2 separate regions of the Homo sapiens genome follow, and region 1 is linked to region 2. Evidence: promoter capture Hi-C in human tissues and cell types (Jung and others, 2019). All regions are on one chromosome and are shown on one strand. The core of a region is centred on a gene start or on the middle of the fragment in contact, and the rest is flanking DNA. Distances in the headings are between cores, read along the strand shown.

Region 1 (2,700 bases), core at 89-2,588, 1.2 Mb after region 2:
CTGATCTATTGGGGCCATCAAAATTGAGGCATGAGTCAGATTTCTCCAGGGTTTGACACATTGACAGAATACTCTGATAACTTAATTTCAGCGAAGGTGCTAATGGCTGATAATAGGATCTCTGGTTACTCTTGGATAACATCTACACTTAAATGGGACAAGGCTCTTTATAGTCTGGTGGCCACTGTCCATCCTGTCTCTCTGTCAGTTTCTCTCTCTTCTGTCCCCAGCTTTCACTTCCATGCCATGCACTGGCATTTCCCTCTGCCTGGGAAATTTTTAGAAATGCAAATTCTCAGTTCCACCCTCTATCTATTGAATCAGAAACTCGGGGTGGTGACCCAGAAACCTATGTTAATTAACAAGAGTTCCAGGAGATTCTGATGTGCGCTGAAGCTTGAGCTCACTTTTCTAAAAACCTGAGCTACATCAGCACATTTAATCTTCATGGCAGCTCTCTGAGGTAGGTACTAAGATTGCCCCATTTTACAGATGAGAAAACTGAGACACAGAAAGCTAAGCAACTTGACAATGGTTCTAAGTTGGGAAGTGGTAGAGCTGAGCTTTGAATCCAGGCTATCTAGCTTAAGAATTTAGTCATTCTATGACTCAGCTGTTACTTCGTGTATAAATAAATGCCTCTGTGAAGACTTCCGTGTGATGCCAATCTCCCAAATTTCACCAAACAGTATCAGTAGTCCCTACATCACTTTCTTCTCTTACTATGCATGTACTTTTCTCATCTTTCTATGCCTGGTACCCAGTACCTACGTTGCAATAAACACACCTTGGTATATGAGGAAAGAATGAATAATTAAATTAATGATTAGTGAATCAGTAAATATTATATCTTGCCTCAGAAGCAACTTTACCAATTTTTCTCAAGAAGTTTAAAATATACAGGTTACTAAATCCTATCTCTCACTTCCCTGAAAGTCTTTAGGAGTAGGACCTGTGAATCTGTATTTTTAGTAGTCAAAACAGAAATAAGAACCTGGGTTTAAGAAAAAGTTGTGCCCAACATACTGATTCAGCTCACATAAAACTCCCACCTTAATTCACACTTACAATATCAGAGAGCTTGATAAGACCAAGCTGAGGGCATCAATGGGAAAGGAGGGACTCATCTCATCCTTAAATCCTACCTCATAGGAGAGCTGCTTACCTCGTAACCAACCCTACCTGGAAGAAAGCCTGAATGTGCTTCACATTTCAGGCACATTATATAATATTCTTTGAATAATATCAACATAAGAAATGCCTGCAGTTGGTTCCACCAAGCTGTATATGGGAAGTTGTTTTCCCCCTGGAACAAGCAGTCCTCAGCATACAAATGGGTCATATTCCAAAAATGCATTTGTAAGTTGAGTTGTTTGGATCTCAGAAAACACTTTCCCACAGAAGTAATATTAGAAAAGAGGGTTCCATTCCTCTGCCAAAACACAAACCTGATTTAGAACACTCTGTCTCTGAAATAGCATTTCAGATGGCCTACACGGACATCCATGGGAAATGTGACTGGGTCCCACCCAACTTGGAACTGGGGAAGATGGGAGCACTGTGACTTCTTGGTGAGGCTGGGCTGTGCCAGCAACAGGGACTTGCCTTAGTTCTCCTCCCTCCCCTAACACACACACACACACACACACACACACATACACACAGTGGCTACTGGTCATGTGATGGAAAGAGAAAGTTGCCACTCCAAGAAGACTACTTGTGTTCCAATGAAACCTTTCCTCCCTTCAATTGTACATTCAAGAGCTGCCCCAGACTTGCAGCTCAGAGGTCCACATTTCAGGAATAGATCACCCAGAATGCTGTACCCTAACCTCTGATATTTTCTTACCTGAATTTTGGAAACATTACACCATCTGTAGTTTCAATTTTAGAGCAATTGTAACCACCTTCCCTAGTATATCTAGTATAATAATATAGGGATAAACATAGAATAAGTGGCATAAATAAAATGGCTGCTGATAAAGTGGAAAAGAGACCCAAATGTCTAGTTTTCCTTGGCCATCAATTAATTAGCTGTGTGACAATGGGCTAAATTCTCTGGGCCTCAGTTTTCTCATTTGTAAAATACTGGGGAAGATAAGTGATTTATATAATCTATAACAGTTTTTTCCTAAATTTAATATTCTAGAATTCAATAAAAATAGTTCTACCTGCTCCCTGGTGAGAAGATTGCTAGTCGGTTATTCTCAAAATTTTTCCACACTTGGCAAAGAAACACTGAAACCTCATTTCAGGCCCAAAGATACATCAAGAAGAACCAAGGCTGGTGGGTTAAAGTTTCATTTCATTCTTATTAAATTAAATGTTATTTCATTCCATTCTTACTTTCCACAGCCAAACTTCACTCGGGCAATGCTCAATGATTTTAAGCCTTGTACTCAATTAGACATTTGTCAGCACACAGCAAGTTAAGGATTGACATGGCAAAATACTGATAATAATTTGTCCAAATTTTGACATGGAAGGAAAACAGAGGAAAAAAAAGAATATAAAAGAATTTGAAGTTATCTCAGAAGGAAACCTTTCAAATAATCAATATACTTAATCTTAACATGTACCATCATAGACTTGAATTTATCTGAGAGCAAAAAATATTGTTTCTTTGACAGGAACCCCCTACCTAAAGGCAATACTTTCTAGAGGAAAAGAAGTGATGGAATGTGGCTACTGGCAACCACT
Region 2 (2,700 bases), core at 81-2,580:
GAAAAATACTCCATCGCTCCCAACTGATGAAAACAGGAAGCTCTATTCATAAATATAAAATTCACTGCCTATGATATATAATCATCCTAATAAGAAAATGAGTTCTATACATACTTGTCCAAAGGGGCAAAAAAGGAGATAGTTTCCCAAAGATGTTTCCAATTTTCTTCTGAATCAGAATTAGCAAATCGAGACGACTAACATACTCTGTCTGTGGGCATTATTCCTTACTACACACAGCATTTTGTAATTTATTTCAAAGCTTCCATTAGAAACAAAAAAATACATAGCTTCTGTTAACCCACTCTATTCTAAGCTCATAGAATCAAATACTGAACAATCTACATTATAACATAAGCATTTTACTTTATAGAAGATCTGCTATCAGAAACTCTATTAATGTCTAAACTACTTAAAGAACTATATAAACTGAATACACTTCAATGAAAGACAAAAAATATTACAATCATAAAGAAAACTAAGATTCATCCAATAAACTATATTACAATCCCTGTCATTCATTTTTTTAAGATCTTCAAACTAGGCATGAGATAATGGTATACATGAAACATTACATTTAATCTTTATTGTAAAGGCCGCCATCTAATAGATTGATAATAAACTAGACAGACGTGATTTAAAATTTGTAAAAGAATGCCCAGACTAACACTTTCATGACAGCCAATTATAGTCAAGCCTAGCAAGCAGTTTGCAACCAGACCTTAAGGTAAACTTTTTTTTTTTTTACAATGAGTTACAGATTCACAAGTTTAAGAAGACAAGAAAAAGGAAAACAGAAGGAATCCAGCCACCCAGCAAATATGAAGCAGACCCCAGAATGTGATACAGTCCAAAGATGTGAATTATTGTATATCATCACTGTTGTTCAGAATTTCACACAGACTCTTGAGCCAATTTTGTTCATTTTTCCACAGACACAATAATGAACTAAAAAGAGGAGGCAAAAAGGCAGAGGTTGAGCGGGGAGTAGAAAGGAAAGCCCTTAACTGCAGAGCTCTGCTCTACAAATGCTTAACCTTACAGGAGTTTGGGCTCCTTCAGCATTTGTATTCTATCCAAATCCTCATGAGTCACAAAAATTAAAAAGCTATATCCTTCTGGATGCCAGGAAAGGCCTTACCACAAGCCTTTTGTGAGAGAAAGAGAGAGAGAGAAAGAGCAAGGGGGAAAAGCCACAGTGGTAGGCAGTCCCACTTTACTTAAGAGTACTGTGAGGTCACAAACCACATGATTCTGCCTCTCCAGTAATAGTGCTTGCAAAAAAAAGGAGTTTTAAAGCTTTTGCTTTTTTGGATTGTGTGAATGCTTCATTCGCCTCACAAACAACCACAGAACCACAAGTGCGGTGCAAACTTTCTCCAGGAGGACAGCAAGAAGTCTCTGGTTTTTAAATGGTTAATCTCCGCAGGTCACTACCAGCCACCGAGACCAACAGAGTCAGTGAGTGCTCTCTAACCACAGTCTATGCAGTAATAGTAGGTCCTTCAAATATTTGCTCATTCTCTTTTTGTTTTGTTTCTTTGCTTTTCACATGTTACCAGCTACATAATTTCTTGACAGAAAAAAATAAATATAAAGTCTATGTACTCCAGGCATACTGTAAAACTAAAACAAGGTTTGGGTATGGTTTGTATTTTCAGTTTAAGGCTGCAAGCAGTATTTACAACAGAGGGTACAAGTTCTATCTGAAAAAAAAAGGAGGGACTATGGCATCAAACAGCCTCTTCAGCACAGTGACACCATGTCAGCAAAACTTCTTTTGGGGTAAGTGTTACCATTTTTAAAATCCTGTAAGATATGAACCTGTTAAACATAAAGGTATGATTCTTTGATAAACTGCTAGCTTTTCCAAATAGCATATTAAAGATCCTAATTATGCTATCTTGTTGCATTAAGAATTGAAAAATGAAATTTCTGTATATATTTGCATTTGGTATCTGTAATGTATCTAATTTTCAAAGTAATGACTTGAAATATACAAAATTAAATTATCTCACATTGATCAAAATGTTTTCTAGAGTTATAGAGGTGAGGATATGAAAACAGTAAAAGAAACAGTTTAATACTCTCATTAACCCTCACCAGAAGAAAAGTCAGATCCTAAATTAATCAAAGCATTATAAATTATTGACTCCGGCAGCTCCCAATATTTGAGCAAACTTCAAAAAGGAAGCAATTTTACAAAATAACAGACCACAGAATTATCTCAACATTATGGTCTACCATGTATAACACAGAAATAAACCTGTAGTACAGTTAACATTTTAACCAGCTCAACTAAAAGAAATCTACTTATAAATTCAAACTGTATCCTATCTAAATAAGTTTGTTTCTAAACAACTTTATATAAGTATACATTCAGCTGAAATAAAATTATGATAAGCACATCACAGCCATTTTTAAAAGATCTTTATAGTTGCCCAGGATATTAAAAAGTTCATGGAAGTATTTTAAAACTTACATGCAACTGCATTTTTCTATGTAATTTTAATTTTACATCTACACACTGTTATCCATAGACCTTGTTATAAACACACTGAAACACTGAAACGTCTAAGATTCTTTTAATCACATTCTTGGACCTACCAAAATGAATAACTGCTGTTTAGTCTCATGAAAAATAAAGCTCCATAAGGATACCCTGTATGATTTTTAAAAGCCACAACTATTAAACCATGC

What was found. Contacts are between HindIII fragments. The study calls those that stand out against the background at their distance.
Region 1: a contact is called between a fragment that was not itself captured here and the fragment with the promoter of RUNX2 in region 2, in 1 of the 25 tissues and cell types used here (dorsolateral prefrontal cortex).

Annotation. Positions count from the first base shown.
Region 1 is chr6:46,501,341-46,504,040 of GRCh38, forward strand. The region is part of intron 1 of RCAN2-DT (RCAN2 divergent transcript); the gene reads left to right. Among named protein-coding and RNA genes, the nearest start is that of RCAN2-DT, 11 kb to the left of the region's middle. The HindIII fragment of the contact is 4,989 bases long and covers 1-2,700 here.
Region 2 is chr6:45,327,000-45,329,699 of GRCh38, forward strand. It overlaps RUNX2 (RUNX family transcription factor 2), which reads left to right and starts at 1,331. Exons shown (of 9, transcript NM_001024630.4): 1 at 1,331-1,461; 2 at 1,662-1,785. The coding sequence starts at 1,728. The region is part of intron 2 of SUPT3H (SPT3 homolog, SAGA and STAGA complex component); the gene reads right to left. RefSeq lists a cis regulatory region at 49-55, a promoter at 1,013-1,653 and an enhancer at 1,060-1,100. The HindIII fragment of the contact is 4,056 bases long and covers 1-2,700 here.